Linked DNA regions of Homo sapiens: all the other regions are linked to region 2. Evidence: promoter capture Hi-C in 16 types of primary human blood cells and fetal thymus (Javierre and others, 2016). All regions are on one chromosome and are shown on one strand. The core of a region is centred on a gene start or on the middle of the fragment in contact, and the rest is flanking DNA. Distances in the headings are between cores, read along the strand shown.

What was found. The method cuts DNA at HindIII sites, captures the fragments that hold promoters and counts their contacts. A CHiCAGO score of 5 or more calls a contact.
Region 1: a contact is called between a fragment that was not itself captured here and the fragment with the promoter of RASSF8 in region 2, in 1 of 17 cell types (endothelial precursors). The highest score is 7.3, in endothelial precursors.
Region 3: a fragment that was not itself captured here is called in contact with the fragment with the promoter of RASSF8 in region 2 in 9 of 17 cell types (endothelial precursors, M2 macrophages, M1 macrophages and 6 more); the score reaches 9.1 in endothelial precursors.
Region 4: a fragment that was not itself captured here is called in contact with the fragment with the promoter of RASSF8 in region 2 in 2 of 17 cell types (endothelial precursors and megakaryocytes); the score reaches 8.1 in endothelial precursors.
Region 5: a contact is called between a fragment that was not itself captured here and the fragment with the promoter of RASSF8 in region 2, in 1 of 17 cell types (endothelial precursors). The highest score is 5.1, in endothelial precursors.
Region 6: a fragment that was not itself captured here is called in contact with the fragment with the promoter of RASSF8 in region 2 in 2 of 17 cell types (endothelial precursors and megakaryocytes); the score reaches 7.0 in endothelial precursors.
Region 7: a fragment that was not itself captured here is called in contact with the fragment with the promoter of RASSF8 in region 2 in 1 of 17 cell types (megakaryocytes); the score reaches 5.1 in megakaryocytes.

Annotation. Positions count from the first base shown.
Region 1 is chr12:25,579,290-25,583,520 of GRCh38, forward strand. It overlaps a transcript of LMNTD1 not described here. Among named protein-coding and RNA genes, the nearest start is that of LMNTD1, 28 kb to the left of the region's middle. The HindIII fragment of the contact is 1,335 bases long and covers 1,705-3,039 here.
Region 2 is chr12:25,956,816-25,960,833 of GRCh38, forward strand. RASSF8 (Ras association domain family member 8) reads left to right here and starts at 1,867. Exons shown (of 6, transcript NM_001394098.1): 1 at 1,867-2,333. It overlaps RASSF8-AS1 (RASSF8 antisense RNA 1), which reads right to left and starts at 2,627. Exons shown (of 4, transcript NR_038228.1): 1 at 2,511-2,627. RefSeq lists silencers at 1,479-1,968, 2,069-2,168, 2,239-2,288, 2,429-2,478. The HindIII fragment of the contact is 3,942 bases long and covers 1-3,492 here.
Region 3 is chr12:25,451,499-25,455,335 of GRCh38, forward strand. No RefSeq gene overlaps it. Among named protein-coding and RNA genes, the nearest start is that of LMNTD1, 100 kb to the right of the region's middle. The HindIII fragment of the contact is 4,379 bases long and covers 133-3,837 here.
Region 4 is chr12:25,640,037-25,644,043 of GRCh38, forward strand. It overlaps a transcript of LMNTD1 not described here. Among named protein-coding and RNA genes, the nearest start is that of LMNTD1, 89 kb to the left of the region's middle. The HindIII fragment of the contact is 597 bases long and covers 1,558-2,154 here.
Region 5 is chr12:25,541,278-25,545,041 of GRCh38, forward strand. All of the region lies in intron 4 of LMNTD1 (lamin tail domain containing 1), which reads right to left. Among named protein-coding and RNA genes, the nearest start is that of LMNTD1, 10 kb to the right of the region's middle. The HindIII fragment of the contact is 626 bases long and covers 1,791-2,416 here.
Region 6 is chr12:25,610,738-25,614,621 of GRCh38, forward strand. It overlaps a transcript of LMNTD1 not described here. Among named protein-coding and RNA genes, the nearest start is that of LMNTD1, 59 kb to the left of the region's middle. The HindIII fragment of the contact is 1,293 bases long and covers 1,296-2,588 here.
Region 7 is chr12:25,487,956-25,491,923 of GRCh38, forward strand. The region is part of intron 9 of LMNTD1 (lamin tail domain containing 1); the gene reads right to left. Among named protein-coding and RNA genes, the nearest start is that of LMNTD1, 63 kb to the right of the region's middle. The HindIII fragment of the contact is 1,348 bases long and covers 2,027-3,374 here.

The DNA.
Region 1 (4,231 bases), core at 1,122-3,621, 380 kb before region 2:
TACCTAAAAAACACAGTATAACAACTATATATATAGCATTTACATTGTATTAGCTATTGTAAGTAATCTAGAGGTAATTTAAAGTATACAGGTGGTATGTGTAGGTTATATGCAAATATCACACCATTTTATATCAGGGACTTTAGCATTTAAGGATTCTGGCATCTGCAGAAGGTCCTGGAACCAATCCCCCATGGATACCAAAAGATGACTATACAAGGCATCGACTAATAAATAGGGCAGGTGCTATCAGTTATCTATAATAATACTAATTGCCTCTTTGACTTCTCTATCTAGGTGTTCTGTATGGCACACTATGCCCCAAACCAAGCTTATTATCTTGCTCAATTTCCAAACATCCTGGAGATGTTATCTCCATCTCCCTGTGCTATCTCAGTAAAAACCAACTAAATTGCTCAAGCCAAGAGCTTTGGACTCATTCTTGATTCCTCCTTTCCCTCTCTCAGTATACTCAACCAACCACTACATATTATCAAATGCCTCTTGCATCCATCCCCTTCTCTTTTCAACAATACCGGTATAGACTCCAATCGCATCTCTCCAGAACTACCCAGCGAGCCTCTGAGCAGTTTTCCCCTGCCAGTGCATTCTCTATTGTACCCCACAAATTATCTCAAGCATAGATGTAATTATTTGGGTTCTCTGATACCCAGAGAAGAAAGTAAAAACTTATTAGATTTGCTAAGGCCCTTCATGATTGGGCCTAAGACAAATTTCATTATCATGTGCAACTACTCTCTGCAAGCCCTGTGATCTAACCACAGTAGGCTACTAGACACTTCCCTATGCCACCCAGGCTTTGTTCAGTTTAGTTGTGTCCTCTGCCTAGAATGCCATGTCCTCTTTTGTCCAATGGAAAACTCCCACTTATCTGTTAAGGTTCAGATCATGCATCATCTCTATTTTGTAGTTTTTCATGACCCCCTCTGGCCCCTCCTTCCATCCACCTTTCCATTGATGTTTTCATGTATCTCTATTTCAGTATTGATTCCATTGTTAAGGCAAAACTGATACGCAATCATTTGCACTGTGGCCATCCATACCAGCTGTATATAGTCAGTCTCCATTCTGATTGGTGGGTACTTGTTCAGCACAAGTATTAAATATTATGAATAACACTCCCAGTTGCTGGCATTATTTCAAATCTATCTTTACCATGATGCTACGAGATTAAGGGCAAGGGCTGTGCTTTATTCATCCTATTTCCAGGGACTGGCATAATATCCTCATATAGTTGTACCCTTATATGTTTGATAAAATGAACAAAATATAGACAGTCTTTATAGTAATTCTTTCTAAAACAGAATTACTTTTATCTAAATAATTGTGAAATTTGCCTGATCTATACCAAAATTATCATCAACCTGTTTAACGATCAAAGCTACACTATGGATTTGGTAAGTTCAGAGGTCAGATATAGTAACCTCTAGTTTGGGTAATTTCATGACTTTTCCTTCTTTGAACCTGGGTGGGAAAATCCTGGACTTTGAAATCAGACAAACCGGAAATTGAATTGAGAGCAATCTCTTAAACCTATGAGACTTTGGTAAGCTGTTTAACCTCTCTGAGATCTATTTCTTCCTTTTCAAAATGGGGAAATGGATACCTCCCTTACCGGGTTGTTAAGAGAACAAGTAAGACCATGTATTTAAGGACATGGCATATAATCCCCCATGAACAGTAAGCTTTAGCCTACTTGGAACTAATTTAAGTTAGTAGAGAAGATTTCTATTCTGAACAGCAATCTCTCCAATCAAAAGAGAGGAGGAAAAGGCAGATAAGGCTTATATTTCCTGGAAGCATCCTGTAGCAGCGTACATAAGACATCACAATGGACTGCATGCCTATTATTATGAGCCAGTGCTGACTGTGCTGCTGAGAAATGGTCATATGGCCAGAGTTATATACTAGGGATAAGCTAAAGGCCCCGCGCAGTGCTTTATTTGTCAAACAGAACTACTGTTGTTTTATCTCCAAAGCATCTGCGTTTAAAACATCTGGATTCATTTTCAATGGAGGCATCTCTTTTGCTGATAAAATGTGAGGAGCAACAAGGTAATGTAGTTGGCAGGTCAGCTGTCAAGATGGGTAATGTTATCATAGTTATGTTGTTTCTCTGACTCTTTGAACCTATTAGGATTAGGAAAGGCGATTCTAAGACAAGAAATTGAGCACCTCTAAATCACAGAATTTAATAATGAAGCCATTATTTTTCAAATATATTACTCTTTTGATTAAACTTTATCATCATAGGTATCAAATTCTGACATAAAAACTGACAAAAATAATTGATATTATAAAGAGTTAAATCTAGTTTAGAAAATATACAGTTGTGTGTTGCTTAATGATGGGTATATGTTCTAGTTCTGAGAGATGCATCATTAGGTGATTTTGGTTGTGCAAACATCACAAAGTGTACTTATGCAAACCTAGATGGTATGGCCTACTACACACCTAGGTTATATGGGATAGCCTATTGCCCCTAGGCTACAAACCTGTATAGCATGTTACTGTACTGAATACTGCAGGCAATTGTAACACAATCTAAGTATTTGTGTATCTAAACATAGAAAGACTACAGTAAAAATGCAATAAAATGTTATGAGACCACTGTCATATTTGAAGTCCATCATTGATCGAAAGATCTTTATGCAGGACTTGGCTGTATTTACTTTTATTTACACCTGACTTCCTTTATTCCTCGACTTTTATCTCATCCTCATCCATGTGAAGGGGCAAAAGCCTGGTATCATGGGTCCCACAGCCAACAGGTCTGAAATGTTTCTTCACTGAGGGAGAGGAAGATTATATGGTAGCTCCATATGGATTTTCAGGATCTAACTAGGATGCCAGAGTGACCAAAAGAAGAATTACAGGCAAGATCTTGCTGTGGTTTCTTCCCTTCACTTCCAAGTACTGTCTGCTTCACATTTTCTACAGCCACAAATAACCCTGTCTATGTATCTGTGTCAACAGAGGACGGTCATGACAGGGAATATTATGCAAAGCTCACTTCCAAGCTTATCATCCTATGATGTAATAATTAAATTAAATCAGCTGTTATTTTTCATACCTGTTAATCGGTAAATTGCATACAAATTTATAACTCACTTTAGATAAGTCTGTCTCCAAATGGTGATCTTGCTCAGAAGCCTATAAAGAATCAAACAAAACACTTAGATCATGAGAAAAGTGGAATATTCAATAGGAGACCTCAAAGTGCGGAAACATTAAAACTTCATGGGCTCCGAATAAATTTTTGGAAGTTGCAGATGGCTTCTCATGAAACCATACATCTGGAAAAAACTTTTTAAAATATGACAACCTAAATTTGATATTTAAATAAGACTGTGTCAATACTCTATAAGCAGAGTTATGTGAGAAATCATCTGTATTTGATTTTCATAATCATTTTTATAGTATCTGCTAATTATAGAATTTTAGAGTTAGGAGATAGTTTGCAATGCTAACTACGAAATGCACACCAAACCTATACCTGAAAACTTTTGTCACCTAATATATAATAAGTTATTTAAGCAGTTTATTTATTTATTTGAGAGTAGGTCTCACTCTGTTGTCCAGGCTGGAGTGCAGTAGCACGATCATGGCTCACTGCAACCTTGACCTCCAGGGCTCAAATGATCCTCCTGCCTCAGCCTTCTGAGTAGCTGAGACTACAGGTTCGTGACACCATGCCTGGATAATTTTTTTTTTTTTTTTTGAGACGGAGTCTCGATCTTTCGCCCAGGCTGGAGTGCAGTGGTGCTATCTCGGTATCTTGGCTCACTGCAAGCTCTACCTCCCGGGTTCACACCATTCTCCTACCTCAGCCTCCCGAGTAGCTGGGACTACAGGTGCCCGCCACTGCGCCTGGCTAATTTTTTTTTTTTGTATTTTTAGTAGAGACGGGGTTTCACCGTGTTAGCCAGGATGGTCTCCATCTCCTGACCTCGTGATCCACCCGCCTCGGCCTCCCAAAGTGTTGGGATTACAGGCGTGAGCCACCGTGCCCGGCCGGTAATGTTTTTAAAAAATTTTAGTAGAGCCGAGGTCTCACTATGTTGCCCAGGCTGGTCTTGAACTGCTGAGCTCAAGCAATCCTCATTCCTTCTGCCTCCCATAGTGCTGGGATTACCAGGCAACCACACCTGGCCAAAAATATCTTTAGACAATATAGGAACACAGATTTTATTTTTACCCTTTTTAATCC
Region 2 (4,018 bases), core at 617-3,116:
AAAGTTTTTTTTTTTTTTTTTTTTTTTTTTTTGAGATGGAGTTTCGCTCTTGTTGCCCAGGCTGGGGTGCAATGGCGTGATCTCGGCTCACTGCAACCTCTGCCTCCCAGGTTCAAGCGATTCTCCTGCCTCAGCCTCCCAGTTGCTGGGATTGCAGGCATGTGCCACCATGCCCGGCTAATTTTGTATTTTTAGTAGAGACGGGGTTTCTCCATGTTGGTCAGGCTGGTCTCGAACTCCCAACCTCAGGCAATCTGCCAGCCTTGGCCTCCCAAAGTGCTGGGGTTATAGGCATGAGCCACCGCGCCCGGCCAAAAGGCAGAAAGTTCTAAGAAGGAGAGGTCAACATTGGCAAATGCCACAAAGGGCACAAGATGGGAATTAAATTTTTCCATTAGATTTGGCAATTAAGCAATGGCTGATGTTGTTCAGTGGAGTGAAAGGCTGAGAAGGGAATGAGAGGTTAGGAAACATTCACCTTAAGGCTAGGCAACTCCTTTGAAAAGAGTCAAGTAGGGTTAAGGGAGGATCCATGCCCTCCAGGTTGACTTTTAAATCATATTCCCTTTGGTTTTGCATTTGAATCACAGTGAACTTTCTCCTCTCCAAATGTTGATTTGACAAATTTGAGTCTTACCATGGCTCTCTTCTCAGTCCACCTGCAGGTCAAGGAACTAATGAGGTGTGGAGTAACTAAAGGTCAAAAAACAAGAGGAAGAAACAAAGGGCCAAAAAACCCCAAACCTTAAATCAGGTCCTGAGTCAGATACGCTGTAACAAATTCTGCTTCAAGTTTAATATTCTTGTTTTGATGATGTTTAAAAAAAGAAAAATAAAAGCAAGTGTCTGGAAAATTAAAAGGCGGGGTGGGGGGGGGCATTTTAATTGGAATGCTTTCTTGTATCTCATCCACTATCCGCACCCCATCGCCCTGCAAATTAATAGCTGTTGCGGAGTTGGGGTATGTGTGACCACAAAATCCAAAGGCTGAATTTTGCCCAGTGCCTGAGTAATTGCATGCCACACACAAAAAAACAGTAGAATATTGAAAACAACATACACATCTGTATTTCCATATGAAAGCACCCGTTTCCTTTCTTGATTATCTGCTATTTTTAAAGGGGTTGGGAGTGCAGCGGGGCGGGGGGATGAGGCGTTTTTTCTGAATACGAGCCCAGCTCTTTCTAAACTTTTGTTACTCACGTCCGTTTGATTCATTTGCTGTGTTTTTTCTTTCTTTCTTTTTTTTTTTCCCCTCTCCTGCCTCTGTCATTGCCTGCTGCTAAGAGGGACGCTGAATCACAGCCACTGCAGATGAAAAGCAATTCAAACCCAGTCCTTGGAGGGGGGATGGAACGGCTCTTTTTGATTTTTTTCCCCTCTGCAGAAAAAGCCTCCTACTTTCCGGGTGACCGTAGAGGGCAGTTTGACAAGTCTCAGCCCCGGGCGATGGAAGATTTTGCCCGTGGGACCGTCACGAGCCACCGGTCATCTCCCCGCGCCCGGCTTTCGGGTCCTCAGGCCTCGGTGCGTCGCGGGCCAGGCGACAGCGGGGGGGCGTCGCGGGCCGGGCGAGCGTGGCCCGGTGGGCCCGAGGGTCGCGCCGAGCTCCCCGCCGCTTTAAAAGCTCCCACAATGCAGCGCTGGCGTCCCAGTTCCGTTACGAGGTCTCTCCCGGCGCCGGCGAGCGGGCCAGGCGCGGGCGGGGCGCGGAGGAGCGGCGGCTGAAACCCGAGCGCCCGGCCGAGGGGGGCGCCCCCGCGCCGCTCCTCTCGCGCGCTCAGCCGCTGCCCGGCGAAGGGGCGGAGCCGCCTGGCCGCCCGGCCCGGCCCGGCCCGGCCCGGCCCCCAGCCCGGCCCCCAGCCCAGAGGCACCGGCCGCGGGAGCGAGCGGGTCGCCGACTCCTACGCCCGCGCTCCTCCTACGCCCGCGCTCGTCCGGCGCCCCGCGCCGCGCCCCGCTCAGCGTCTGCCGCCCAGCTCCTCGCCCAGCCTCGCCGAGCCTCGCCCTTCCCGCCCGCGGCGGCGTTGGCGCTGGGGGCGGCTCCCGCGGCGTCTCTGCCGCTGGCCGAGCGCTCGCGCACCGCGGCACCCCCGCCAGTGGCGTCCACACTCACCTAGCGCGGGCCGGGAGGTGCGCGGAGAGGGAACGCCGGGGGGCCGGGGCCTCCAGCCGGTGCGGGGCGCGCGGCGCGGGGAGCGCCGGGGAGTGCCGGGGAGTGCGGCGCGGGGACGGGCGCTGGGCGGCCGCGGAGCTCCGGGTGCCGCCGCGTCCCCAGCGCCCCGGCCGGCCCCTCTGGGCGGCCTGCGGGGGCGGCGCAGTTGCGAAACTGAGTAAGTATTAACTTTACTTAGCGGCGGCGATCCGGGCTGCGCCGGGGACCCCGCCCGTCCCGCCTGCAGCCTCGGAGCTGCCCTCCGCCCGGTTGCCCCTCTCTCCGCACCTTGGGTACCTCGTCCGTTCCGCCCCCACCCTGCCCCGCCGCGGGCTCCCGCTCCCTCTGCGTTCACCTTTCCTGGTGTGTCACCCTTTGCGCCTCTCCTCGCGGCACACAAGCCGCGGACTGAAAAGTACGAGCTTGGTCTTTGCTTTTCTGCTTCCTCCCAGTGTCCTTGGCAAGGGAGTTTAGAGGCCACTTTTCTTGCAAAGGGAATTTTATGTCTGGTTTTTAAAATATTTTTTCCTCCGGATGGAAATCGGATGCTCGCTTGCCGGGTGGCGGTTTGGTGAACGCTTTTCTCCTCTAAAAAAATATTGGTTTATAGGTTTTTAAATTTCATTTGAACTATTAACCATCTGCATTCTATTCTCCTTTGCCGCCAGTCCCTTTGGGGAGGGGAGTCCAGAAGAGGGGACGTTCAAAGTAATTCTGACTTGCAAACTAGAAAGTTTGAGAGGGTAAATCGCACAAAGCCGGAAGATTCAACTTGAAGGGACGCGAGCTTTGAATGTGGGTCCTGGTGCGGCACTGGGTTTTAAAAGATGAGTACTTGGGTTCGGAATCCAGTGTTGCGTTGTTATTTTAGCATCATAGAGCCGCCTGGTGTTGCTAAACCACTACTTTCCCAGCCTCAAATGGCATCTTGAACAGTGCAACGTAGGATATATAATTGCGGGTCAATATTGTTGCTGATCTTTAGGGATTTAGAAGCGAAATGAATGCAAATCACGTCTCATAGCTGACTTAAACCTGTCAGGTTAGCCCTGTCAGGTTAGCATTAAAGCATTTCATTAAAAAAAAAAATCCTCTAGCCCTGTGACAGCAGGGACGAACATTTATGGATTTTCCAGTAGATTGTGGCTCAGCAATTCATTAGATCTGCTTTGTCCCCAGGAAGCATTTTAAAATATGTATAAATCTCTGCTTTTCTCTCCATTAGATTAACCACTCATTCTGGTAGGGGGCCCCAGGTAGTTTTTATTTTCTTTTTTGCCTTTCATCTTGGAGTTGCCAGGAGTTGCCATCATGTTATGAAGGAACAGAAAATGAGAAGCTTTCTTAATGGGTTTTCGACATCCTGTCCTTTGCCAGAGTGAGGCGGTAGTGAATGCCAGCCAGCTTTCTGCAGGGAGAGGTGCAGGGTGGACGCAAAAATCAGGACGCAGGAGACAGCACTATCATTTGGGGAAGTGGTTTGTGTGAGTTTTATCTTTTAGCGGGCATACTAATGGTACTTTTAATTTTATTTATCTCTATGAGGCACACTCCCCAAACCATAAAATTACACATGACCATCCCCCACTTGAAGAAGACTGAACATAGTTTGATGATTATTCTATTCAAGGATCAAGTACAACAAAATATAATTTGTAATACAGATGATAAAACCTTTCAAAAATCTCCCCCTTCCTCATTTTTTTCCTCAAGAGTCTCCAGGTGGTACTTTCTGTGATGGACACAATTGGCAGTAATGCACTGAGTTCTTTCTAGGTTTATTGATCAAATCTTATGTCTGGGCTTTAGTAGCTTAGGGGTGCATTAGAGGGCCCTGAGAGGGAGCAAATCATGGGGCTGTGC
Region 3 (3,837 bases), core at 1,072-3,571, 500 kb before region 2:
GGAACAACACACACTGGGGCCTATCAGAGGGTGGAGATTGCAGGAGGGAGAAGATCAGGAAAAATAAATAATGAGTACCAAGCTTAATACCTGGGTGATGAAATAATCTGTACGACAAATCCCCATGACAAAAGCTTATCTATATAACGAACTTGCACATATGCCCTTGAACTTAAAATAAAAGTTAAATTTAAAAAATGGTGATATTTTAATTTTGTTATTTTTAGGCATTTATGACTTGCAATTCTTTCATAAAGAACTTTACCTATTCAACTATTTGGTTTCCATGAAAAACAATTTGTACAGGAAGACTTGATTTTTCTCTTTATATTTTAGTTTTCAGCATAATAAATTGACACTCTAACATTCCTTAAAGGCGGCCAATTAGTTTTTCAGTAATTTCTTTCTTTTTTTCTTTTTTTCTTTTTTTTTTGAGACGGAGTCTTGCTCTGTCGCCCAGGCTGGAGGGCAGTGGTGCGATCTCGGCTCACTGCAAGCTCCCGGGTTCATGCCATTCTCCTGCCTCAGCCTCCCGAGTAGCTGGGACTATAGGCACCCGCCACCACGCCCGGCTAATTTTTTGTATTTTTAGTAGAGATGGGGTTTACGGTGCTAATGGTTTTCTGTTTGAAATACAGTTTTGAAAGCAGTTTCTACTCTTCTGGTTGAACTCTGACTGATTAAAAACGTTGTAGGGGAGAATTCAAGATGGCTGACTGGAAGCAGCTGATGCACACGGCTCTCACAGAGAGGAGAGTGGAGAGTAAATCCTAGCTCTTCAAGTGGATTATCCAGGAGGCCACGCTGAGATTCATCAAGGAAGCAACAGGACCCACGGAGAACAGAGAAGAGTAAAGCAGGGTCGCTGACCGCCTGGGATGGGTGTGGAGCTGGGGAGACTCCCCACCAAGGGGAAAGGGTGAGTGAGCAAGATTCCCCCGGGACCCACACTTCCCCCATGCTCCTTTGCAATCCTGGGCATGAGAGATTCCCCCTAAGCGCTCGCCCCGCCCCTGTTAACCTCCCACCCTGGGCCTCCAGACTGACACAGAGAGCTGCCTGGATTCTGGGCAGAGCCACTGCTGAAGCCCACATGGAGCCCCACAGACCTTGGATCCTTGAGCACCCTGTAGCCAGCTGCCCTACCTCCACCAAAAAAGAAGGGCAGGCTCCTTCACATGCTCCCAGGATAAGTGTTGATAAGGAGTGAGACTGCAGGCCCTGTCTCCACTGCTCCTCCCCAGCAAAGGCCCCCTGGCCTAGGCTCCCAACGCAGCCACCTCACCCCACCTGAGCACTCTGGTCCCCCATTAGGGCTCTGCATTTCTTTGCAGTGTAGCTCCCAGAGGTAACCAACAGCCCCTCTGCCACTCTGTGGTACCTTCTGTTGCCCCCAGACTAGGGAGGAGGAACATGGAGCCTGATTGCTTTCACAGGCACCTCCAGCACACCGCAGCCACCCAACAGAGAGGAGGTCAGACTGTCTTTCCTGCAAGCTCCTGCCCACTCTGCGCATTTCCAGGCAAGGCCCCTGGGCTTGGAAGTGCAGTCAGTCCTATGGCCAGGGCTCTGCATTTCTCTGTGGTGGAGCTCCCAGAGACAACTAACAGGCCCTCTGCCACTGGCTGCCATTGCAGTGCCCTCCTGCTGCTGCCCCCAGGCTGGGGAGGGAACAAAAAGCCTGAGTGCTTTGGGGAGTCTCCAGCAAGCCAGCAGCTGCCCTGCAGAGAGGCCATGACCCCACTGCACCTTCCCAACAGGGCTTGCTGCTTTCTGACTTCCAATGCACCAACATCGCCCATGTATGAACATTGCAGCCGTGAAAACCTTATCTTCACAGGCCTGTGATCTTCCCTCGAGATCCCACCACCTGACCCTATGTGAGAGTTCAGCTGGTAACTCAGGGACCAGCCTGGCCCTCCCTATCACAACCAGCAACTCAGGCTCCACCCGATCCAGCCCCATCAAGACTCATACACGCTGTCCAGCTGGCCATTTAGGGGCTGGGGAGTTGGAGAACCCCATTCCAATTCTGCTGACACCTGACCATTTCTCCCAGGGCCTGAGATTGGACCCACCCACCCAGCCAATATCACCACAACCTGCACAGGCCCAAAGGCGGAGGCCCCCTAACCCCTTTTACATGAAGATGCAGTGCTATCACATTGGAGAATGGTGAGCCACAATGCCATCTGTATTAATTAGGCTGAGTGATGAAGTTCTGCCCCAAAACCACTGCCACGGAGAGTCACAAATGAAGCAACCCCTGAGGCTCTCAACTACATTGTGGTTCAGAAAAAGGCTACAGTGTACATCTGATCTAGGAGTCATGAGCTCTGGAACAGAGATGTGATAGGGCAGCAGTTCAAATTCCTGTCTATCTAGGATGAGGTGGTGGTGTACCTTGTATGTCTGGTAGGTAGAATTCATCAGTGAATCTGTCTGGTCCCAGGCTTTTTTTTTTTTTTTTTTTTTTTTTTGGTAGGTTTTTTATTACTGATTCAATTTTAGAACTCAATTTTGGTCTGTTAAGGGTTTCAATTTCTTCCTAGTTCAATCTTGGGAGGTTGCAAGTGTCAAGAAATTTATCCATTTCCTCTAGATTTTGTAGTTTGTGTGCACAGCAAAGAGTTGGTACCAATTCTACTGAAACTCTTCCAAAAAGCTGAGGAAGAGGAACTTCTCTCTAACTTATTCTACAAAGCCATTTATCACCCTGATACTAAAATCTGGCAAAGATACAACAAAAAAGAAAACTATAGGCCAATTTTATTTATTTATTTTTTTGAGATGGAGTCTCACTTTGTTGCCCAGGCACGATCTCGGCTCACTGCAACCTCCGCCTCCCAGTTTCAAGCAATTCTCCTGTCTCAGCTTCCCGAGTAGCTGGGACTACAGGTGCCTACCACTAGCCCCAGCTAATTTTTATGTTTTTAGTAGAGACAGGGTTTCACCATATTGGTCAGGCTGGTCTCGAACTCCTGACCTCAGGTGATCTGCAGCCTCCCAAAGTGCTGGAATTACAGGCATGTGCCACCACGCCAAGCCAGGCCAATATTTTTGATGAACATAGATGCAAAAATCCTCGAAAAATACTAGCAAATTGAATTCAGCAGCATATCAAAAAGTTAATTCACTATGATCAAGTAGGCTTTATTCCTGGGATGCAAGGTTGGTTCAACATACCTAAGTCAATAAATGTGATTCACCACATAAACAGAACTAAAAACAAAAACCATATGATTATCTCAATAGATAACAGAAGAAGTTTTCAATAAAATCCAACATCCCTTCATAATAAAAACCCTCAACAAACTCAGCATATAAGGAACATACCTGAAAATAATAAAAGCCATCTATGACAAACCCACAGCCAACATCATTCTGAATAGGAAAAAGCTGGAATCATTCCCCTTAAGACCTGAAACAAGACAAGGACGCCCACTTTCACCACTCCTATTCAACATTGTTCTAGAAGTTCTAGCCAGGGCAATCAGGCAAGAGAAAGAAAGAAAAGGCATCCAAAATTAGAAAAGAAGAGGTCAAATTATCTCTTTTCACTGATGATATGATTCTATACCTAGAAAACCCTAAAGACTTCACCAAAAGCCTAAAACTGATAAATGCCATCAGTAAAGTTCAGGATACAAAATCAATGTGCAAAATCAATAGCATTTCTATACAGCAATAATGTTCAAGCTGAGTGCCAAATCAAGAACACAATCTCATTTACAGTAGCCACAAAAATAAAATAAACTACTTGGGAATACATTGAACCAAGGAGATGAAAGATTTCTACAAGGGAAATTACAAAACACTGCTGAAAGAAATCATAGA
Region 4 (4,007 bases), core at 606-3,105, 320 kb before region 2:
CAGACATAAAAGACCACAATTATATGATTCCATTTATATGAAAAGTCCAAATTAGGCAAATCTACAGAGACAGAAAAGAGATTAGTAATTGCCTCAAGCTAGGTGACTTGGGGGGAGAGGAGTGGGAAGTGACTGCTAACGAGTGTGAAGTTTCTTTTAGAGGTGATAGAAAATAGAATAGGTAATTAAGATTGGGTGCAGTGGCTCTCACACCCATAATCCCAGCACTTTGGGAGGCCAAGGCGGGCAGATTGCTTGAGTCCAGGAGTTCGAGACCAGCCTGGGCAATGTGGCAAAACCCTGTCTCTACAAAAAATACAAAAATTAGCCGGGCATGGCATGTCTATAGGCCTAACCTACTCAAGAGACTGAGGTTGGAGGATCACTTGAGCCCAGGAGGTGGAGGTTGCAGTGAGCTGAGATTGCACCACTGCACTCCAGCCTGAGTAACAGAGTGAGACTGTCTCAAAAAAAAAAAAAAATCTAAAATTATATTGTGGTGATCACATAACTATGTGTATATATTAAGAATCATTAATTACATTAAATAATGTTATTTAAAAATTTATTAGTTATCCATGACATTACAATTGTAATAAAATATCAGCTTATTGAAGAAAAGAGGTTTTTTGTTTTTTTTTTGAGACGGAGTCTCGCTCTGTCGCCCAGGCCCTGGAGTATAGTGGCGCAAACTCAGCTCACTACAAGCTCCACCTCCCGGGTTCACGCCATTCTCCTGCCTAAGCCTCCCGAGTAGCTGGGACTACAGGTGCCCACCACCATGCCTGGCTAACTTTTTTTTTGTATTTTTTAGCAGAGACGGGGTTTCACTGTGTTAGCCAGGATGGTCTCGATCTCCTGACCTCGTGATCCACCTGCCTCGGCCTCCCAAAGTGTTGGGATTACAGGCGTAAGCCACCGTGCCCAGCCAGAAAAGTGTTTTTAATTTGAAGTATATTTAGTTTTCTTTTCTGTTCATTTACTCATACTACAAACATTTACAGGACATCAAAAAGTGCTTGGTACTAGCAATACTCAGATGAAAAATAATTTCTGCAACTAATACTGTGTTTGGCATGTAGTATGTACTCAACCAGTATGTTTTGGATGGATGGATGGATGACTATAGAATAGATCTGATAAGTGCAAGAAGGTAATAGTATTCTGTTTTTATTAATGTTCATAAGGCTGTACTAATGTAGCAAAATTTGAATTTTACCAAGACTAGGTAATATTGATGTCTTGATTTCCTTTCCTTTATAAGGTGCATGTATAAACCAGCAGTTTGGCTGAAAAAAATGAACAGCAATAAGAAAATTATTGGCTGATACAGTAAGCTACATGCCATGGAAAGGTTCTGAGGTTTATTGTCAGGAAAAAAATAATGGGTTCAAATATTGTCTGTGGCACTTACTATCAATGTGACCTGAGGTAAGTATTTAAGCCTTTGTTCAGTTAAAGGGGAATAACATAACATCTTTCCTACTTGGTAAGATTATTAATAATGTGTATTTAGAAACCAGCATAATGGTCAATAAATGGAAGTTATGATTATTAAGCTTAACTTCAAATAGATATACTTTTTATAAAAGTAATATAATAACTGCTTGTACTATTATTTATCCACAAGGGTAAACATTTAAAGTGTATATTTCATATGTCACATCAAACTTTGTAGTAAATAATAAAAGAAACATTATGAAACTCTGCAGTTCCACAGAATATAATATAAGAGATGCACAATTTGGAAATTAAACAACTGCTGAAAACCTGGTCTTATCCATTTAGGCTTCTCTGCTTTCCCATCCTAATTTTTTTTCACTCTTGAATAATAAATATATCATTATTATTTGTACTATTACTTACAACCATAGTAGGACTTTTCACTTTTTAAAAAGTAGCTTGAAATTATTTATACTAAACCAAATTTGCGAATTTCAGTCAGAAATTCTAAAACTCAATTCAGCAACCCAAGAGTTTTCCTTACTGTACAGTCTCCTCATTAACCCAACCATACTCCATCCAAATCTTTAAAAAACATTTCCCCAAAGTTAGTGGAATGAATTTTATGATTTAGATGCCATTTACAAAATAATATATGTTAAAGGGTCCAGGTAAGGAACTATATTTTTGTTTTGGGCCTTGAGAGAAGGAAGCTTATGAACTGAATGTTTGTGATCCTTCCCCCAAAATTCATCTGTTGAAGCTCTAATCACCACTGTGAGGGTATCTGAAGGTGGAACCTTCGGAGGGTAATTAGGTTTAAATAAGGTCATGAGGGTTGAGCCCCCATAATGTGATTAAATATATCTTTATAAGGGGGTGAGAAAACTGGGGCTCTCTCTCTGTTGTGTGAGGATCTCATGAGAAGACAGACAGCCATCTATGAACCAGAAGGAGGGCCCTCACTAAGAACCCAACCATGCTGCACTCCGATCTTGGACTTCCCAGCTTCCAGAACTGTAAGAAAGAAATGTTTGTCGTTTAATCCTTCTGGCCTGTGATGTTCTATTAAAGTAATCCAAATGGACTACAACACTCCATCTGTCTTTGGTCATCTCTGCTTTAGTACTGAAGGTGCCAAAAATTAACATTAGCTTTATTCTCCAAATATAACTTTCTTCCTTTCAAAAAATATTTAAACTTGTTCAATCTTTTAAAATCTTTTAATCTCTTTTAATCTTCTTTCTCCTCATCTCAGAAAAGAAAAGCATGGAGAGCCTGTTTCTTAAGGACATTATTTGAGTCAGAGCTACCTTAGCTGATGCTCAGTGGATTAACTTCACTCTGGTGCCACAGCCCCAACCTGAGCTCAGTACAGCCAATTGGAATTTTATATATGTCCCACAAGTCAGATTTCTCAGGACTGTATTTTCAAATCTTCTATTTAGTCATGCCACGTCTATGATATATTTTCGATATTAGAGGTCAGTATGCATTCAACAATTCAGTTAATGCAACGTTCCAAGCACTGTTCTAGGCTCTGAAAATATAGCACAAGATCATAGCCTTGAAGAAGGATTAATAGTCCTTTAAGAATAAGCTTCTCTAAGATCTTATGATCCTTGAGTGAGACAGAAAAAAACATATAACATGGTAATTTTAGATTGTAATAAGAGTCATACAGCAAGTCATGACAGAAATATAAATAAAACTTACATTATCATTTATGATTATAGTGGGATGAGCAGGGGAAGCCTTTCTAAACAGATGACAGTTGAGTTGAATCCTGCATGACAAGAAGGAGCAAGACATGCAAAGAACTTTAAGAAAGGTATTCAGGGGAAGCATCCAGCAAGGCCAGAGACCCCGACACCTGGTGGGTTTGAAAAATAGAGAGGAGGCCAGTGTGCTGAGTAAGCAAAGAAAGAATGACATGAGATGAAAAAGGTTAACAAGGGCCGGATGATAGAGGGCTTTATAGACAATAGAATATAGGATAAACAAGGAAGAGACTTACATATTCCTTTTTAATAGCAAGGAAAATATCCCAGGAAGTTCTGTAGCAGATTTTCCTTTCAACTCATTAGCCAGAATTGTGCCACATGTGCATTCCAATTTTTAAACCGATTGCTGACAACAGGAATTGAGCTGCCATGATGGGGCCATGACTAATCGAGTGTCACTTGGATGACCAGTCACCCTGAAGACCATGGCCCCCTGGGAACTGCATAAAATCAAGGTTCTGATGGCAAAGAAGAAGGGAGGAGTGGCTGTTGGACAGGATCCTGATGGAAAGTGCCAGAGAAGTCAATGTTTGTTATCAAGTGGAGGTACCAGGTAGTTAGTTGATTATGAGTCCAAAATTCAGGGTGTCGGATGAATGGCAAATGGCACATAGCTGACATTTATGGTCAGGAACTGGACAAGATCACCTGGAGAGACTGCACATAGATTTAGAAGTCAGTCCAGTATTGAGATCAGATAAAGTAAAAGAAATAAAGAAAGGATTGGCCAGAGCTAGATATGGGAAAGCGTTCATCATAAAAGCCAAGAGAGAAAAGTTT
Region 5 (3,764 bases), core at 854-3,353, 420 kb before region 2:
AAGCCAAAAGAACAAAGCTGGAGGCATCACACTACCTGACTTCAAACTATACTACAAGGCTACCAAAACAGCATGGTACTGGTACCAAAACAGAGATATAGATCAATGGAACAGAACAGAGCCCTCAGAAATAACGCCACATATCTACAACTATCTGATCTTTGACAAACCTGAGAAAAACAAGCAATGGGGAAAGGATTCCCTATTTAATAAATGGTTCTGGGAAAACTGGCTAGCCATATGTAGAAAGCTGAAACTGGATCCCTTCCTTACACCTTATACAAAAATCAATTCAAGATGGATTAAAGACTTAAATGTTAGACCTAAAACCATAAAAACCCTAGAAGAAAACCTAGGCATTACCATTCAGGACATAGACATGGGCAAGGACTTCATGTCTAAAACACCAAAAGCAATGGCAACAAAAGACAAAATTGACAAATGGGATCTAATTAAACTAAAGAGCTTCTGCACAGCAAAAGAAACTACCATCAGAGTGAACAGGCAACCTACAAAATGGGAGAAAATTTTTGCAACCTACTCATCTGACAAAGGGCTAATATCCAGAATCTACAATGAACTCAAACAAATTTACAAGAAAAAAACAAACAACCCCATCAAAAAGTGGGCGAAGGACATGAACAGACACTTCTCAAAAGAAGACATTTATGCAGCCAACAGACACACGAAAAAATGCTCACCATCACTGGCCATCAGAGACCTGCAAATCAAAACCACAATGAGATACCATCTCACACCAGTTAGAATGGCAATCATTAAAAAGTCAGGAAACAACAGGTGCTGGAGAGGATATGGAGAAATAGGAACACTTTTACACTGTTGGTGGGACTGTAAACTAGTTCAACCATTGTGGAAGTCAGTGTGGCGATTCCTCAGGGATCTAGAACTAGAAATACCATTTGACCCAGCCTCCCATTACTGGGTATATACCCAAAGGACTATAAATCATGCTGGTATAAAGACACATGCACGTGTATGTTTATTGCGGCATTATTCACAATAGCAAAGACTTGGAACCAACCCAAATGTCCAACAATGATAGACTGGATTAAGAAAGTGTGGCACATATACACCATGGAATACTATGCAGCCATAAAAAATGATGAGTTCATGTCCTTTGTAGGGACATGGATGAAATTGGAAATCATTATTCTCAGTAAACTATCGCAAGAACAAAAAACCAAACACTGCATATTCTCACTCATAGGTGGGAATTGAACAATGAGATCACATGGACACAGGAAGGGGAACATTACACTCTGGGGACTGTTGTGGGGTGGGGGGAGGGGGAAGGGAAAGCACTGGGAGATATACCTAATGCTAGATGACGAGTTAGTGGGTGCAGCACACTAGCATGGCATATGTATACATATGTAACTAACCTGCACAATGTGCACATGTACCCTAAAACTTAAAGTATAATAAAAATAAATAAATTAAATAAAAAAAGAAGAAAAAAAAAGCCCAAAGTAGACAGAAGAAAGGGAATGTAGCCCAAAATGAAAATCAATTAAATAAAAAACAAAAAATAGGGGAAACCAATATAACCAAACACATGTTCTTTGAGGAGCTCAATAAAACTAAATCTCTAGTGATATGATCAGGAAAAAGAGAAGATACAGATGACCATATGAGAAATGAGAAAGGTGATACCAATAAAGATTCTACAGTTCTTAAAAGGATAAGAGAATATTATAAATGACATTATGCAAATAATTGGACAACTTAGATAAAAATGGACACATTTCTTGAAAGACAAAAACTACCCAAGCTTATTCAAGAAGAAATAATTAGAATAGCCTAATATCTATTTAAAAACAATTTATAGTTTTAAAACTTTACCACCAAGAAATTCCAGGCCCAGATGGCTTCACCAATAAGTTCTATAAGACATTTATGAAAAAAAATTACTTCTACACAATCTCTTCTAGAAAAGGATAAAGGAGAGACTATATCCCATCTCATTCCATAAACAGTGGAATTACCGTGATACCAAAACAGACAAGGACATTACAGGGAAAGAAAACTACAGACCAATAATCTTTACAAACATTGATGCAAAAGTTTGAAGCAATATTTTAACAAATGGAATTCAAACAGTATAGTAAAACATAAACATTATGACCAAATATTTATGGTAAAAGTGAAGGGATGTTTAACATTAAAAAAGAAAAACCATATGATCATCTCACTAGATGCATAGAAAGTATTTGATACAATCCAACACCATGGAAAAAAGCCAACTTTTTGTTTGTTGATCTATATTTTTTGGTCTCAATTTCATTTATTTTTCTCTGATCTTTATTGTTTCTTTTCTTCTACTAATTTTCAGTTTGTTTTTTTTTTCTTGCTTTCCTAGTTCTCCTTGAGATACGTTGTTAGATTGTTTACTTGAAGCTTTTCTTTCTTGATATAGGTATTTATTGCCATAAACTTCCCTTTTAGTACTGCTTTTTTTTGTGTCCCAGAGATTTTGGTATGTTGTGTTTCCATTTCCATTTGTTTCAAGACATTTTTAAATTTTCTTCTCAGTTTCCTCACTGATCCATTGGTTGCTTGGAACTGTGTTTCTTAATTTCCATGTGTTTGTGTATTTTCCTAAGTTCCAAGAATTGATTTCTGGTTTTATTCCAATGTGGTCACAAAAGTACTTGACATAATTTTTACTTTTTTGATATTTGTTTTGTGGCTTAAGAGAGAGTCTATTCAGGAAAATGTTCCACGTGCTGATGAAAAGAATGTATATTCTGCAGCAATTGGGTGAAATGTTCTGCACATGTCAGGCCTCATTGGTCTAATGTGCAACTTAACTCTGATGTTTCTTCGTGATTTTTGTGTCTGGTTCATCTGTCCATTACTGAGAATAGGATGTTAAAGTGCCCTACTACTGTACTGCAGTCTATATCTCTGTTTAAATCTATTCGTTTGCTTTATATACTTGGGAGCTTTGGTGTGGGGTGTACAGATATTTATAATTATTATATCTTCTTGCTGAATTGACCCCTTTATCATTATATAGTGACCTTCTTTGTCTCTTTTTATAGTCATTGATTTGTAGTCTATTTTATCTAAGTATAGCTACTCCTACTCTTTTTTGGTTTCCAGTTGAATGGAATAGTTTTTCTATCCCTTCACTTTCAGTCTGTATGCCTTTGTAGGTGAAGTGGGTTTCTTCTAGGCAGCATATAGCTGGATTTTGTTTCCTTATCCCTAAGCCACTCTATGCCTTTAAATTGAGTATTGAGTCCATTTACATTAAGTATTATTATTGAAAAGAAGAATTTATTTCTTGTTTTTGGGTTGTTTTATAATTTGTCTCTTCCTTTTGTCCTTTATTACTATATTCTTTTGTGGTTAAGTAATTTTCTTTGGTAGTATATTTTAATTCATTGCTTTTTATTTTTTGTGAATCTATTATAGGTTTTTGCATTGTGGTTACATGAGGCTTACAAAAAACATCTTACAGCTATAACAAGTTACTTTAAAGAGATGAATACTTACCTTGAATCACAAAGGAAAGAATAGAAAAAAAGAAAGAATAGAAACAAAGAAAAAATCTCTAGACTGGAACTCCATCCTTCCATATTTTGACTGTTAGTTTTCTCAATTTACGTATTTTTATACTGCCTATCTCTTAGCAGACTGCTATAGCTATTACTGTTTTTGATAGATTTGTCTTTTGGGATTCACGCTAGAGTAATGAGTGGATTGTATACCACAATTACAATTCTGGGTTTTTCCAT
Region 6 (3,884 bases), core at 692-3,191, 350 kb before region 2:
CCAGGGTTAAGAAGAAACCACAGAAACTTCCAAGGTTATTAGTTTGGACTGGGAGAATAGTGGTCTCATTGATTAGATATAAGGAAGTCTCAAGGCTCAGCTAGCTTCAGAAGAAGGTGTTGGGTTTGGTTTGGGCATAAGAAATTTGAGAGGACAGCAGAGGCTCAGACTGAAGGAAAATTGGGAAGCCACTTGTCTTCAACAGTCACAACTGTGGGGGTGAGAGATTCTCAAGTAACGTCTTTAAGGAGAGCAGAGACCCCTTGAGTAACACCTATTTCTAGGCGCACAGAGGAGTCAAAGAAGCAGAGAAGGAAAGTGAAGAGAACGAAGAGAACCAGTATAAAGCAGGGCAGGACGTCAAGGGAAGGACAAAGTTTTAACCTCAAATACCAGGGAAGTCAAAGAGGACAAAAATTGTAGCAAAGCTATGCCATTTGGTGATTAAGAAGAAATGTTATTAAAGGGCAATTTTAATGGCGTACTGGAGACAGAAATCATATGTTTAGGTGTTATGATATGATTAGATCATGAGGGCAAGGAGACCACGAAGATAAATAATTTTTAAAAACATTACTAATCAGTGCAAGAAGAGGATTAACAGGATCAAAGGAAGCCTTTGGTGTTTTGATGGTTTTAGGAGGGGTTGTTTTGTTTAGAATGGGAACATTTAAGCACAGGCTGTGAGGAATACAGTGATGAGGAGGGACTAGGATGAAGGAAGTTTGTCCACACTGGAATCCTCGACTATGTAGCTGAGTTCAGATGGTTAAGTTTAATCCCACTCATCATTTTACTCAGGTATAATGGTTTAGCTCCAGTGTTCCACTATTCCATTTGAGAACATTTACAGTATATTGCCTTAAAGAACAAAAACATAATGAGAATGCTTCCAAAATATGATTGAGAAGTAAAGGATTGACTCCCTTTCTCTTTCTCATACACATACGTACACACACACAGTCATAGCCATGAGTACTGCTAAAATATTTATTTGATTTTATTTTTCCAGTCAAGTGGTCTTGGAAAATGAGCCTGATCCCATTTCCTTAGAGAGCAATAGCAATGCATTCAAAAGTTAGATTAGAATGGACCTCATTTTATGCCAGTCTGATTTAAATGGTTCTTTATACACTTGGATTTCCTTTGCTTGCCAGTTCTGATCCATAACATTTCCTCTTTGGTTGCTTTCTCTTTATTCTGTGTGGTGGAATTTAAGAGTAAACTTCTATCCGTTGGAGTATTTTCTTCATGGAACAGCAAAAAATTTCCATCCAGGGATAGAGTGCTTATTAAGCTTGTTTTACCATCTTAGCCTTTAACATAATTGTACCTATTCAAAGGTTTTTGTGTGTGTTCAGTGAAGTAGAGGGCTTTTCACTGCCAACTAAAGAAATAAGAAAAATACTGTGGCTTTAGATGGAGAGATAGCAAAATTAAATTTTTTTAGATTAACTCAAATGCTTCTTGTTAAAACAAATGAATGAACAATCTGGAAAAAAGTATATCATTTCCTACAATTAACCAGTTCTATCTGAGTCTCTAAGGTCCCTCACACACACACACACACACACACACACACACACACACACGCGCTCCCACTGTCAACAACACTGAACCACTACTCACAGCCTGGATGGAATTCACTGTGGATTTTACACTTTTAGGCTTTGGACCATCTCTGTCCCTTTTTCTAGACTTCTTTCTTTTGATATCTGCCTAACAAACTCCTACTGCTATTCAAGGCTTAGGTCAAGCAATTTTACATCTAGGAAACCTTTGCTGAGTCACTCAGGTAATGTAAACTCGCATCAGATCTTATTTTTATCTTCACCACTGTTATCTGCTTGTTGTATGCCCAGTATCTAGCATGGTGCCTGAATCCCTTTGGCTGAATGAATGAAGCTCTGATGAACTGATCTAAATGCAGGGAAACAGAAAAAGGAGTCTAGAGCTGGAATGACTTTATATATATATATATTTTTAAATGTCCCCCGTGTATAGAGTTTAAAGGCTACCATATGTGATAGGTTGAATAATGGCCCCAAAGACATCTAGGTCTTAATTTCTGGAACCTGTGAAAGTTACCTTATATGGCAAAAGTGACTTTCAGATGTGAATAGATTAAGGATCTTGAGGTAAGGTGATCTCCTGCATTATCTGAGTGGGTCCTGTGATGTAGTCTCAAGTGTTCTTATAGGCAGACAGAGGGAGATCTGCTAGAAGAGGAAGAAGGCAATGGGATGATGGCAGCAGCAGGAGAAAGAGCAATGTCATGAGCCATGGAACGAGGACAGATTCCAGAATATAGGAGAATGCAGTGAAAGGGATTGTCCCCTGGAAGCTCTGGAGGAAGTGCAGCCCTGAAGACACCTTGATTTCAACCCAGTGAGACACTTGTTTTGGACTTCTGACATCCAAAACCTTTAAGAGAATAAATGTCTGTTGTTTTAAGGCATGAAGTTGGTGGTAATTTGTTATAGTAGCAACAGAAAGTCAATGCACCACACAGATCCTGTTCTTCTTCTAGACTTTAAAGCACTCTTATTGCTGGTTCTGACATGACGGGTAGAAATGAAATCAAGATAAGCTTAGGAACCAAAAGACCTGTGTGTGTTTTGACTCTACCGTTTTTTAGCTAGATCTTTTAGTGGGAATCACTGGGCCTTGGTTTCCTGAGGTTAAAACAATACCTGATCAATCTACTTCTTGCAGTTGTTATGAGCATTATATGGCATAAATTACACAAAAGCATTATGTAAACTGCAACAAAAATGTTAACTCTATGATCATGACTTACTTCTTTGGACCTAGGAATTGAAGGCTTCTGGCAAAATGTAAATGAGCCTCATTTGATAATTAACATTGTAGTGCAGTGCTCTGAATAGTGTCTGGCACATAAAACCTTATGCATATTTGTTAAGGGAATTAAGAGATGATTGAATGCATGCATAAATTAAATTAGCTTATTAGAAAAAATATTTAATATCAATAGAATCTTGCTGTCAACAGGTCATAGGAAAAGTAAACATTGGAAAGAGAGAAAGTATTTGGAAATACTTTCACTTTTTTCACAGAACCCCACCTATGAAAGAGATGGATGATGTGGGAGGAGGGTGTGGAGTCTAAAGGGGCTCCTTTAGAAATGGGATTCAAGCAGATTCCTAAATACAGCTGGCAGCTGAGGGGCAACTAAGGGAGAAGATAGGCGGAAGCATTGGGAGAGGAGACAGAAGGACAAAGGGAAAAGCAGAGAGGAGTATCATGGACAAAGGAAGAGAGTGGTTTCCAAAATGAAGGAGAATGATTATTAATGTCAATTGCTGCTGGTGGGTAAAAAAAAAAAGTATCTAAAAAAAGTGTCCATTGGGTTTATCAAGACAAGTCATCAGTCGCCAGTGGGAGTAGGGAGACTGACTGAAGGGTGGGGTAAGCGATGTCCTCTTTTTTTTCTGTCTATTCCTTGTTAAGCTTCCTACGCATTTTTCTAGTTCTCTTCTGGCCTCATCAGTTGCTTCTTCTGCTTCATTTCCAACTTCTCTTACTCTTGCCTCCACCAGCCCTGGAGATTTCTATAGCTCAGTTCTCGGTACTGAGCACAGACACATTCCCTTGATGAGCTCCCTACAACCCAAATCCTCAATTACCAGGTATCTGGGTGACACCTTAAATGCTGACCTCCAGCTCAGCACATCTGGAGAAGCTGCTTCTCCAGACATCTTGCAGAGTAGTCATCCATGAACTGAGTTCAAGATTAGAGTTTAATCTACCCTCCAAGATACTATCACATGCAATAGACTTTGTGCCTATTCCTTTTGGGGTGTTTTCCTCCTAAAGTTAGTTTTCAGAAACCCAAAAGAGAACAGTATTTCTCTTCTGTTAAC
Region 7 (3,968 bases), core at 1,451-3,950, 470 kb before region 2:
TGGCCCCCACTCTCTTCTGGCTTGTGGGGTTTCTGCCGAGAGATCCACTGTTAGTCTGATGGGCTTCCCTTTGAGGGTAACCCGACCTTTCTCTCTGGCTGCCCTTAACATTTTTTCCTTCATTTCAACTTTGGTGAATCTGACAATTGTGTGTCTTGGAGTTGCTCTTCTCGAGGAGTATCTTTGTGGCATTCTCTGTATTTCCTGAATCTGAACGTTGGCCTGCCTTGCTAGATTGGGGAAGTTCTCCTGGATAATATCCTGCAGAGTGTTTTCCACCTTGGTTCCATTCTCCCCATCACTTTCAGGTACACCAATCAGACGTAGATTTGGTCTTTTCACATAGTCCCATATTTCTTGGAGGCTTTGCTCATTTCTTTTTATTCTTTTTTCTCTAAACTTCCCTTCTCGCTTCATTTCATTCATTTCATCTTCCATTGCTGATACCCTTTCTTCCAGTTGATCGCATCGGCTCCTGAGGCTTCTGCATTCTTCACGTAGTTCTCGAGCCTTGGTTTTCAGCTCCGTCAGCTCCTTTAAGCACTTCTCTGTATTGGTTATTCTAGTTATACATTCTTCTAAATTTTTTTCAAAGTTTTCAACTTCTTTGCCTTTGGTTTGAATGTCCTCCCATAGCTCAGAGTAATTTGATCGTCTGAAGCCTTCTTCTCTCAGCTCGTCAAAGTCATTCTCCATCCAGCTTTGTTCCGTTGCTGGTGAGGAACTGCGTTCCTTTGGAGGAGGAGAGGCACTCTGCGTTTTAGAGTTTCCAGTTTTTCTGTTCTGATTTTCCCCATCTTTGTGGTTTTATCTACTTTTGGTCTTTGATGATGGTGATGTACAGATGGGTTTTCGGTGTGGATGTCCTTTCTGTTTGTTTTCCTTCTAACAGACAGGATCCTCAGCTGCAGGTCTGTTGGAATACCCTGCCTTGTGAGGTGTCAGTGTGCCCCTGCTGGGGGGTGCCTCCCAGTTAGGCTGCTCGGGGGTCAGGGGTCAGGGACCCACTTGAGGAGGCAGTGTGCCCGTTCTCAGATCTCCAGCTGTGTGCTGGGAGAACCACTGCTCTCTTCAAAGCTGTCAGACAGGGACATTTAAGTCTGCAGAGGTTACTGCTGTCTTTTTGTTTGTCTGTGCCCTGCTCCCAGAGGTGGAGCCTACAGTGGCAGGCAGGCCTCCTTGAACAGTGGTGGGCTCCACCCAGTTCGAGCTTCCCGGCTGCTTTGTTTACCTAAGCAAGCCTGGGCAATGGCGGGCGCCCCTCCCCCAGACTCGCTGCTGCCTTGCAGTTTGATCTCAGACTGCTGTGCTAGCAATCAGTGAGATTCCGTGGGCGTAGGACCCTCCGAGCCAGGTGTGGGATATAGTCTGGTGGTGCGCCGTTTTTTAAGCCGGTCTGAAAAGCGCAATATTCGGGTGGGAGTGACCTGATTTTCCAGGTGCGTCCGTCACCCCTTTATTTGACTCGGAAAGGGAACTCCCTGACCCCTTGCGCTTCCCAGGTGAGGCAATGCCTCGCCCTGCTTTGGCTCGCGCACGGTGCGCGCACCCGCTGACCTGCGCCCACTGTCTGGCACTCCCTAGTGAGATGAACCTGGTACCTCAGATGGAAATGCAGAAATCACCAGTCTTCTGCGTCGCTCACGCTGGGAGCTGTAGACCGGAGCTGTTCCTATTCGGCCATCTTGGCTCCTCCCCTCTCAGTCCCCAATAGCCATTTTAAGTAGTTATGAAGAAACTCGCTTGTAATGAAATTGCAAAAGAAATGAAATTACAAAAGAAAACCTGGTGATATTATTGAAAAATAAAAAGGTGAATGACGATTCAGGATATAAGGATTGTATGTACTGATTTCAAATATTTGAAAGCACTTCCAAAATCTTTATGTTGAAAAAGCTTCCAAAATCTTTATGTTGTGGCTATAAATTTATTGGTTTCACTTGAAGTAATATATCAGAAAGATTTATTTTGATGCCAAAGAGAAACTGTAAAAACGGTACTGATAAAAATCTAAAGGAAACCAGAAAGCTTAGTTTCTTTTTAAACTATTTGACTGTAAATAAAAACCAGTTCAGCAAATATCCTTTCTAACTCTCTGCTTCTCCACCCCACAATTTGTTCGGTATCTGAAGGCTTTGGATAAGCCTGTAATGTGTAATGTATTCTTCTGTAACACTATCCCTTACTTTTCTCTAATCCCTCCTGTTTAAAAAGTTAGCAAGAAATAAGCAAGCAAACAAACCTACAGCTAGCGAAGAAACTATGGAAAATGACAGATATTCACAATGGGTTTTTTGCTAGTTGCAAAAGAACTAGCAAAACTCCACTTGGGAAGTTCAAAGAGGGTCTATTGACCATAATATTTTTTTTAACATTAAGTGAAGTTTAAACTATAATATCCTTTTTCAAGGGCCTCATTTCTAAAACACTTGGCAATTACAAATCTGAACAAGGTATATACTCTTTAGTTGCCAATGAGCAAAAGTAGTAAATCTATTATCTAGGTGGAATGGATCATTCTATAAAAGTTAGAAGTGAAGCCCTTACATTCTTACATTTAAGGTATGGAAAAAGGAAACCTCATTTTACAGAGGTGCGGAAGGGAACTATAAACATGAAAATCAGTTTTTAAGTTTTTGCAAATAGTTTAAATTCAGAACTAAAGCCTTCCCTTTATTTTTGGACAGTTATTTTGCTGCTGCTTCTGGAAATATAGGGTCATCAATGTCCTCTAATGCTGAGCCAGCAATCCTAATTGAATACAGACATTAATCAACAAGAATCTATAAAGATACTGTGAACCTAGTAATATATGGAGATTTGTGCTTCTCTAAATCTGATGTGCACACTAACCACCCAGGAAGAGAGTTAAAATGTGGATTCTAATTTGGTAGGTCTGGGTGGGTTCTAAGATCTTGGAGTTCTAACAAACTCCCACCTAATGCAATGCAACTGCTGTAAGGACTAGTCTTTGACAAACACAATTCCAGGGTTACAAAAGGCAAAGTGGCATGCCTTTATAAAAGTGAAATCAATAATTGACTGAGGCAAACCATATGGCTCTTGCCAGATAGAGATGGAGCAGCTACAGATGAGCTCTAGCTGGCTACTGGTGTTGGGGCCCAGTGCCGCCTGAGGATGAAATGATAACTAGTTAAAAGTATCTAGTTCAGTGGCTGATTACCACATAGGTGCTTGATCATTTTTTCCCCTTTTTTCTATAAAATAATTACCAAAGGAAACTTAGCATTTTATACGGAGAAAATCAAATGTTGATCAAGAGAGTGGGGCAATGGGTATAATGCAGTATGAAGCAGACATTGTATCTGAAATGTGTTTCTTTTGGAACAAGACTAACCTTATTTAACCAAAAAAGCTTGAAAGAGAAACTTTCTATAAGAGAAGTAACAGGAAAGTCTACAGAGGGGTGGTGGGGAGGAGCTAGAACTGGACTATGAAGCTAAGGAAAAGAGACGAGAAAGGAAGGTTGATGGAGCAACGTAACGTGCCTGTATGGGGAGAAAGTCCTTGAGAAATTGCTAGAGATGGGAATGCCCAAAAGACTTCAGAGACAATAAACTTTCAGTTCTAAGTTATTTGCTGGGTTATAGACCAAGTAACAAATTCTCTCTATTGCCCCAAGGCAATGTGGGCTGGACACATACAGTCTTGTGTAGAAAGTAGTTTGGTGCTGGAGGATTTGAGGTGGTGCCAGCCTGATGGTGATGTGCTGCTGGGAAAGAACAGCATGCACAGAAGGCAACACAGGGATAGACCATGGGGAATTCACCAGGAGGTCATTAGTGACCAGGGAAGCTTAACCCCTAAACAATCAACATTCCTCAGAGTTATTAGGAGAGACAATAGGTTTCCCATTGTGGGGGCAGGTTACAAGCCAATTTTTTGTTAGCCTTTTAAAAGGATAAGGTAACTTTAGCAAGCTGGAGTCCTTGGGAACATTTAGGGAG